Linked DNA regions of Homo sapiens: region 1 is linked to region 2. The links are contacts of gene promoters, found by promoter capture Hi-C in human tissues and cell types (Jung and others, 2019). All regions are on one chromosome and are shown on one strand. Each heading gives the region's core, a stretch centred on a gene start or on the middle of the fragment in contact. The rest is flanking DNA. Distances are from core to core; before and after follow the strand shown. Region 1 has its middle 51 kb from the start of ARL4C. Region 2 holds the start of GBX2 (gastrulation brain homeobox 2).

Evidence for each region. The method cuts DNA at HindIII sites, captures the fragments that hold promoters and counts their contacts. A contact is called where the count stands out against the background at its distance.
Region 1: a contact is called between a fragment that was not itself captured here and the fragment with the promoter of GBX2 in region 2, in 1 of the 25 tissues and cell types used here (lymphoblastoid cells).

Annotation. Positions count from the first base shown.
Region 1 is chr2:234,545,968-234,550,487 of GRCh38, forward strand. No RefSeq gene overlaps it. Among named protein-coding and RNA genes, the nearest start is that of ARL4C, 51 kb to the left of the region's middle. The HindIII fragment of the contact is 4,438 bases long and covers 1-3,665 here.
Region 2 is chr2:236,166,319-236,171,134 of GRCh38, forward strand. GBX2 (gastrulation brain homeobox 2) reads right to left here and starts at 2,068. Exons shown (of 2, transcript NM_001485.4): 1 at 1,131-2,068; 2 at 1-119. The coding sequence starts at 1,653. It overlaps GBX2-AS1 (GBX2 and ASB18 antisense RNA 1), which reads left to right and starts at 1,124. Exons shown (of 2, transcript NR_186035.1): 1 at 1,124-1,351. LOC124906126 (a long non-coding RNA gene) reads left to right here and starts at 2,708. Exons shown (of 2, transcript XR_007088136.1): 1 at 2,708-3,066; 2 at 3,211-3,478. RefSeq lists an enhancer at 247-1,199. The HindIII fragment of the contact is 12,753 bases long and covers 1-4,816 here.

The sequences.
Region 1 (4,520 bases), core at 197-2,696, 1.6 Mb before region 2:
CGGCTTATTTTGTATTTTTAGTAGAGATGGGGTTTTATCATGTTGGCCAGGCTGGTCTCGAACTCCTGACCTCAAATGATCCACCCACCTCGGCCTCCCAAAGTGCTAGGATTACAGGTGTGAGCCACCGTGCCTGGATGAAAAAAAAAAAATAAGTTTTTTAATCCAGAAGAGATGGTATCTCCTCATGGTTTCATTTAGTTTTAAAAGACCCTTCTCACTTCCATCCCTCCCTCCTCACATACAAACCTAAAATTCTTGGATCCCTGAGGATAAAAACATAGTGGCGGACTCACATCTACCTGTATAATATTCAGGCAGCTTTTCCCAATTATTAGCTGTTCTCCACAGGATGAATGGAAGGTTTCTTTTTCTCCCTACTTCAATTCTAGTTAAATAAGTGAGATGCAAGGAGGAGGAAGAATTATAACGAGTCTGTACCGTGATATTATTTCATTACAGGCTGTAAAAAAATCCTCATTATTAGTCAGTTATATCATATTAGTGATCTTGCATCGTGTGTGTGTGTGTGTGTGTGTGTGTGTGAGATCCTGCATGTGTGTGTGAGACGGATAGAGTGTCTGTGTGTTTTTGCCTGGGAGAATGTTGTTGCCACTGCTCTTATATAGGATGGTTTTAAATAAATTTCTTTGCCACTTTCAAAAGTCTGTGTCCTGGATTCACACCTTCACTCTCATTCTCTTTATTCTACTTAGTCGTCCCATTTGCCTATGTATATTTCCTAGGACCAAATGCTGTCTTTTAAAAGCCCTTCCCGAAACCTCTCTGAGATTCTTTCTTGAACAGTTTTACAAACTTACAACCCACCCAATGTGTTTACAGGTAAGGTTTGCAGCGTAGAAAACATGATCAGCACCAACTGTCACTCCTGTTGTTGCAAATTTCCTTCCCCCATTTACTGTTACACACAATGAGAATAGCAATTGGCAAGCACTGGGGAAAGACCCATCTGCCTATCTACATGTGCATGCAGTAGGAGGTGCATATGTGCATACAGCGAGCTTTTAGCCATCAGCTCACCTGAGTGCTCTGTCCTTCTCACTTCCTGCCGAGCAGACCTAGCAAACCAGGGGGAGTTCATGCTTTCTCTGCATTTGTCAGACCACATCTAGTGTGTGAGGGCTGGCTCCTTTCTTCCTTCATTCATTCTTCAAATCTTTACTGAGCTTGTCCTATATGCTAGACACTCTTCTAGACAACAGAGGGGTGGAGGTGAGAAAGACAGCCCTCCCCCTCCAGGGGCTTACACTCCAGGAATAGTGACCAACAGACAGAGTTGATTCATGCCTTGGGAAGCGTCTAACAAAGAAGAGAGAGGCAAGCAGGAAGGGAGTGGGGTGAGGAGGCCCTGGCCCTCACTAGTCTTAAGATATTCAGCTTTCCTGGAGGAGGTGTTACCTAAATCAGGTGCTGAGGAAAGCAGGTGTCATTCAGGGAGATGATGGGGGCAGTGGGGAGAGGATCTGGAGAGAGGACATCTCATGCCAAACTGAAAGGGCCCAGGGAGGAAAGGTCGGTGCACAGGGTGGTGAGGGCGTGCTGTGTGTGGTGGGCGCACAGCAGGGAAGGCAGAGGTGGATTCAAGGAAGTGAGAAGGGGCAGTATGAGGAGGTGAGGTAAACTCAGGAGAAGTTGAAGAAGCAGTCAGTTTGGCCTGAGGAAGAATCAAGGGCAATTCTTTTTGAAGCAGTGAGAGCTGCCCAAAATGCTGAAAACACAGACGCAAGGGTAGACGGATTCTGTGGCCTCCATGTCATAGGAATAGAATGAATGGCTGAAGGGCAGAAGGAGGAGTGTTGGAGGATAAATGGAAGCAGAGACAGCAGTTACTGAGCAGGTGCAACACATCAGGTGCCTTATGTGTGTCCTCCTGTTGATTCTCACAGCAATGCTGGAGTGGAACAATTATACCTTCCACCTTCCACAGGAGGTAGCTGAGGCCAGTGCACTTAGGAAACTTGCCCAATATTATGGGCTGCCAATTGGTGGAGCTGGGATTTGAACCCAGGAAGCCTGGTTCCCAGGCCTGTGCCAATGAAAGGCAACCAACCATGAAGCAGGCACCTTCTAAGGCAGTGAGGATCTCATTGCTGGAAATTTTCTAGAAGGGGGCGATATAGTGGACATTTGTGGCTAGCTCCCCAGCGCTTGTATAAGTCAGCACACTCCAATCCCTGTTTCCCCAGGGGCACCCACATGATGGAAGAGCTGGCCAGCCCCAGCTGCCATAAAAACCCTGGCCAAGGGAGGCACAGAGCGGTCCCTGGGGGCACTGGCCTACCTGACCACAGCGTCCAAAGCTCGTGGCCTCTGGGCTTTCCACTAGGAGGGGTGATTGGAAGAAAGAGTGAAAGGCATCCAGGAGCTAAATGATAAGAACTCATGAACACAAAGAAGAAAATAACAGACACGGGTCTACTTGGGGGTGGAGGGTGGGGGAAGGGAGAAGAGCAGAAGAGATCACTACTGGGTACTGGGCTTAATTCCTGGGGGATAAAATAATCTGTGCAACGGATGTCGTGACATGAGTTTACCTATGTAACAAACCTGCACATGTACCCCTGAACCCAAAATAAACGTTGACAAGAAGAAAGGCATCAAGGAATTAAATTGTTAAACTTTGGGAAAAAGTTGCAGCTCAGGCAGACTTGGAGGAGAGAGAAACCAGTGTTTTGGAGTGAGAGAGAGGAAACAGGCAGTTCTGAATTCTTTGGAGCAGTCGAGGGAGCCCAGGCAGGGGCTAAAGACACCCGCTCGAGGGCGTGGCTGCCTTCCCGAACCCCTTCGCCCTGGCCAAGGCCTCCTCCTCTATGAGAACAAAGTCAGAATTGAGAAAAACTACACACAAAAGGATAATCATCCATTCAGACGGTGAGGGTGCTGAGTGAGCTGTGTCTAGGGGAAACCAGCGGGGAGGGCCCGGGAGGAGTTTGTGCTACAGCAAGAATATTATGAAGAAGAAAATGACTTCACCAGAAAAGGGCAGCCTGAGCCTGTGGCCTCCATGGCTTCTCCAGGCTATGGGTCTGTGCTTCTCCTACAGACTCTAGTAACGTCTGAGTTGCTTGAAAAAGAAATCGAGGGGCTTTACACCCATGTTGTCACACCTGTGCTTATCATTAGCATTACAATCTGGAAAGGGGGCGGGCTGGGGAGAGAGGGAAGCTTCCTCTCCTGGGGCCCAGGGACATGTGGTCTGGAATCCTAGCAACCCAAACAGCTGGCTGCTGTACTGGCTTCTTGGCCGGTCCCCTCTCATACTCCAATATAGAGATGCAGACAGTGAGTCAATGAGTTCCCATCACTGATAAGTCACATGGTTTGGGTTTGCCTCGTTTTGTGTCTTGCAAACAAAAGCATTCTGATGGATTTGGCTGAGGTCAGTCCGCCCTCTCTCAGGGTTGCTATGGAAGGAATCTCTCCATCAGGAGGTGTGTGGACGAGGACCTCTGAGATCTCTGGCTCAACTCTAAGATTCTATTACTCCTTCGTATGATTCAAAGTTGCGTAGGTTCTTCTTCTTTCAGGTGCAGGTGGAAAACATTTAAAGACACAGAGTTTTTAAATTGTTTTATATTTTAGATTCAGGGGTTACACGTGCAGGTTTGTTTCAAGGATATATCATGTGATGCTGATGTTTGGACTTCTATTGATTCCATCACCCACATAGTGAGGGTAGTACCCAGTAGAAAGTCTTCAGCCCTTTCTCCCCACTCCCTCCCTTTCTCCCTCCTTCTCTCCTTTTGGAGTCCCCAGTGCCTATTGTTCTCATCTTTATATTTGCGTGTACCAAGGTTTAGCACCCACTTGTAAGTGAGATGTGACATTTGCCTTTTTGTTTCTGCATTACTTCATTTAGAATGATGGCCTGCAGCCACATCTATGTTGCTGCAAAGGACATAATTTCACTCTTTTTTATGGCTCCATAGTATTCCATGGTGTACATGTATGACATTTTCTTATTCAGTCCACCATTGATGGACATCTAGGTTGATTCCATGAAGAGAGACACAATCTTAATTATTTTGTCATCACAGACGTCACTAAGACAAAAAGAGGGAACATTTAACGTAAGTTCTACAACCTAATGACACCGACAGGAATTCGATCCTGGTTTTGGAAAGCTTAAATTAGACACACACACGTGCTCAGGCACACACAAAGCAGAATTCTTTGTCTAACTTAGACCCCAACTTCAGAGGGTAAGTTCAAGTTCACATCTTGAAAATTTAAATGGCTCTATTAAGACATTCTTCCCATATCCTTGGGTTTAAAATGCAGTGAGTCAACCAGCCAAACTAATTTCGTACTCAACTCTCATATACTTGAACGAATTATGGCTATTTTTAACAGGATTATGAAGATTATCAAAATCACTTGAGAGAGTAAGAAATCCTGTTGGAAGGAAGTATAATACCCTTGCAAAGATAAGTATAATTAGTGTGGAAAAGGGCGATGAAAAATTAATAGAGTTTTAAGGTCAAAGATACATGCAGATG
Region 2 (4,816 bases), core at 818-3,317:
AGTCAGATTGTCATCCGAGCTGTAGTCCACATCGCTCTCCAGCGAGAAGCTCTCCTCCTTGCCCTTCGGGTCGTCTTCCACCTTTGACTCGTCTTTCCCTTGCCCTCGGACAGCCCCGACTGAAAGCAAAACCAAACGGCATTTTATTACATTTCGCACACTGGCCTTCCTTTCTCCTTCCCACCGTCATTTGGACATTCCGCGCCCCCCGCCCCCCACCCTTTAGCGGATTGTCTTTCTATGACATTAACACATTGTGATTTCCTGGCCTTTGAGGGGTAGAGGAGGGGTGGGGGGAGCGTGAGAAAGCTCAAAGGAGAGGAGGCAGTACAGGCGACGGCCCTTTGCCCAGAACCATCACTCAAAGGGCCGCCATGCCTCCCCCGCACCCTCCCAGCCTCGGCAGCGTCAGGAGAAGTAGCAGGAGGCGCGAGGCCCAAGAGATTGCCCGCTTTGTCCCTGGGGTGGGGACTGGTTGAGGACTGATGGGGGGATTCACGATTCATCCTCCCCCCACCGCCACCATGAAAATGTAGTGAACCTCAATTGCTTCCTAACCGGAGTGGAGGCGTAGGGACGTGCAGATCCCAGACCATCTTTTTTGAGACAGACAACGTTGGTCAAAGGGATGTTTTGTGGCCTTATAAGTTCCCACCAGACACCCCCAACACAAACACACAGGCACAGCCTCCCAGCAGTCCGTTTCTCCCAGACAAGTAGCAAGACCAGCGAAGGGGTTTAAAAAGTCTGGGCGCCCCTGGGCACACGCACGGCTGAGACGCGCAGCCCAACCCGTCTCCCCTAGAGGCTGCAACCTACCCGGAACCCCAGGTCACCGCGGAGCGGCAGAGGCGGCCTCGGCCAAACGCATCGTCAGATAGATATGTGGCCCAGGGCAGCAGCTGGTCGCCGGGCGCTAAACGCCCCCCCTCCCGAGACCCCGCTTGTTGGGTGGCTCTGAATGTCCCCCGGAGGCCCAGCGGCACAGCCGGGCCTCATCCTCCAGCTCCTCCCGCGGGGGTCGAGCGGGGGCGCGGCCTCGCCCCCTTGGTCTCCCGCGGGAACCCGGCGCTGGCCCGCCCCCGCCTCCTCCCGCCCCCTCGTCCCGGCTGCGCGCGCCGCCGACTCACCGAGCGAAGCCTGCACCGTCTCGGCCGCGGAGAAGGCGAGCAGCGAGCCCTCTTTGGCCAGGAAGCCTTTGCCGTCCTCCGCGTCAGCCTGCAGCGCCTCCGCCTTGTCGAAGTTACCGCCGCCGGGCAGCGGCTGCGGCGCGAACTTGCGGGCCGCTGCCGCCTCCTGGTGCTGGGGCGACGCGGAGAAGCCGCCGGGGAGCGTGGCCATGAGCGTAGAGGTGAGCGCCATGCCCTGCGCCAGGCTGGAGCAGAAGCCTGTGGGCAGGCTGGGGATCTGGTGGTGAGGGTGTGCGGGCGGCAGCGCTGGCTGCAGCGCGGCCTGGGGCAGCGCGGGCGGCGGCGGCGGCGGCGGCGGCAGCACTACCGGCCGGTAGGGCATGAACATGGGGTAGCCGGTGTAGACGAAATGGCCGGGGCTGGGCTGCGGCGGGCTGCCGATCAGCGAGTCTATGCTGAAGGCGGTGCTACTCCCCAGCGGGCGCTGCATCATCATCAGCGACGGCGGGAACGCTGCGCTCATAGACGCGCTCGGTAGAGGCCAGCGAGAGGCGAAAAGTCCCCGCGCCGCGCCGCCGCCGGGAAGCCCGCCGGACGCCGGGAGCACCGCCGGGAGCGCCGGGCAGGGGCCGAGCGGGACCCGGAGAGCAGACGCCTCCGCCCCTCAGTCCTGGGCCCGCTGCATGCCGGGCGGGTGCAGGGGGTGTGCGGGGTGAGGCCGTGCGCCCCGGAGTGGAGAGGGCGCCCGGGCCCCGAGGGCTCGCCGGAGCCCCCGTCCGCCGCTTGCCCGTCGGAGCCCGCGCGCTTCGCGGGTTTGGCCCTCGGCCCCGGTAAGCTGCCGTCCGTCCGTCCGTCCCGCCGTCCGTCGCCTCCCGCGGGCCGCTGGGGAGCGCGCGAAGCCGGCGTACTTATCTCCGGCGGGCGCAGCCAGCACCTTTAAATCGCGCTCCTCTTTCTCATTCACATTTTGCCTGCCGCCTGGCCCGGCTCGCCTCACGTGGGGCTGGGCGCCTCTGGCCATTGGCTGAGCGGGGCGGGGGTGGGGCGAAAGCGGGGCCCCGCCCTTTCCACCCAAGCTGGCCTCGAGCGGGCTGCGGGCGCCACCGTCGGAGCGCGCGGGCCGGGGAGCCGGAGCCTGCATGCCTAGCCCGTGCCGCGCAAACTTGAGACGGGCGGATGGCACCTCCAAGGCTCGGACCTTGGGGCCCTGCAGCCTTGTCGAGGCCACCTCGAAGGGTAGCCTCCGGGGCCCGCACCCCCACGGCTGGGCCGGGGGCGCTTTATTTCTTTTACTGTATTTGCCATGGAACCAACCTGCCTGCGGCTCACTCCAGCGCTGGGTGCTCCGGCTGCGCCTGGGGTCCGGGCGAGGGTCCTGGAGTTGGGGGCAGGGTCCTGCCCCTCCGGAGCCACCCCCGGGGCGAAGGCTGGGAGCTGGCAGCGCCTGCCCGCCGCCAGAAACCCGCCGGGTTGCTCGCTGTAGGTCCGCGCACCGGGTGGGGCGGGGAGGCTGCTGCTTCCCCCATCCCGGGCTGGGCCCTCCCGTGAGCGATCCCGTCTCTCATTTTTCATGACATTCTTAATCATCGCACCTATTTACACACTTTGCCAGCGCGCACCAAAATAACAACCACGATAATTATGATAATAAAGAGAGTCCTTTATCTGCTCCATCCTCGGGGAGGAAGGGGGGAGTTGCTGTGCCTCCAGATTGTATAACGTGAGATTATCCTGATGAAAGCTTTATGATGTTTGCTCAAATAAAAGCTGCGTTTTGTAAATAGGCGCTAATTAAGCACGTTGCGAACGCAAGGAGTGCTCACCCTGGCGCCGCCGCCCGGTTTCCAGCGCGAGGACTCGAGGGCGCGCGGTTCCTCTTTGCTAACTGCAGGATGGAGCCGATCCCCTCAGGATGTTTCCCCTGTTCTCGACAACGGTAAAGACCCCCAAATTTGAAAGTAAGGGAATTTTGGGGTGGAGGGAAACTAGGGACGTACTTATCCCCTCTTCCATTTTCAAACAAAAAACTTTCAGCTCTTGTCTTCCCTTTAAAAATGGAATCACTTCTTGACAACGGCAGACCGTGCAGAGCGCACCAGCGCGAGCGGGGCTTCCTCGAGTCTCCAAGGCCCGGGCTTCAACTTCCCGGGTCTAGACGTCAGCCCTGAACCGCCAACAGCACCGGGTTGGGGAGAAGGAAAGAAGGGCATTGTTAGTTCGGTCATTAAAAATCAGCTCACGCCGAGGAGCTAGTGGTTGGGGAGTTGGCCCGTGTTGGACGTGTGTTATGTATCACTTACAAGCACATTTAATTGGGAGATAAAGATAAATCGATCTTTATGAATTTATCGACCCGATTCTTTGAAGCTCTTTTTTCGCGTTCTTCCTCTTTCTCTCGCTCTAGCCCCAAGGCCCCCCGGGGGACGTCTTAATCCCAGATCAGCTCCTCTGCCAGGAGTCCCGCCGGAGACCCACTGCCCACCCAGCAGACCTGGAGGAAAGAGGGGAGGGTGTGTCCTTGGCGCCCCGGGACGCTGGGAAAACTCGCTGGTCCGCCGCCAGCCCTCTCCTCCTCCTCGCCTCCTCCCTCCCTACCACCACCCGGACAAAGACGTCTCGATCGCGTTTCCCCACTCCAGGCCGCAGTAATAGATCGCTCCGGCAGCAGGCGGTTTGAAAGGAATTCATTAGGACGCTGCCTGGATTGCCTCCCCTGACTTCACGCCCAGACCCCGAGGTGGCTTAGGCAGTGTGAGGGGAAATGAATTCCCTTTGGGATCCATGGAGAAGGAGGTGTCTGTGGGATCTCCAGGCTCTATCCCTCCTTCTTCACTCCCAGAAAAGAAGAAAAAGAAAAAAAAAATCGAAGCCCAGGGCAAAAGGCTGATATCTTTATGAGCATAATAAATACTCCCCCTCATTATGAGATAGTTACAGTGACACAGCCTTGGGTGCCATTACCCTGTTTTTTGAATACTAAGAAACGCTCCATTCCTTCCTTGATTTACGTGGCTACAGCCGGGGCCCTTCCGGCTTGCCACTGACATGCCGGGGGAAGCTGTTATTCATTTTACCTAGGCAGGTTTGCCATGCACTTTGCTATTTCGCCGCAAAAATATTGTTCTAGGGACTTTTGTCGCCTGATTACCCTCTGAGAGGCAGGGATTCCTTTGATTATTTTGGTGATTATTCTACATTTAAAGTTCAGCAAGAAGATTTAGGTCCGTCGAATTATAGCTGCACTTGAAATAATTTGATGGCATGTTATTTGCATCCATAAATTGCCATAGCAAGTATTGACTGCAGGGGTTATAATACTAATCTTTTATTAGTGAGTTCAGATAATTCCCATCAATATGAATTTTATTTACTAGTGCCTTTTTCGCAAATGCAATGCAGTAATACTTTCTCATCTAATGCTTAGCTGCTTAGAAAACGACTGTTCGTGTCATAAAAGGATCCTTGTGTTTCGGCGTGATTAACAAGATGCATTCGGGGCACCTCAGCTACCTGCAAAGCGTTCAGAGCGTGGGGACTGCGGATAATAAAAGCCTTTAGAGTTTTTCCTCGGCTCCTCGGATAGATTTATGGACAGGAGCGATAGATGCATGGCTTATCCATCCTCCGGATTCCTACCTGCTTAGCTCGTAACAGCCTCAAACTGCAGAGTCCTCCGTGACTCAGCT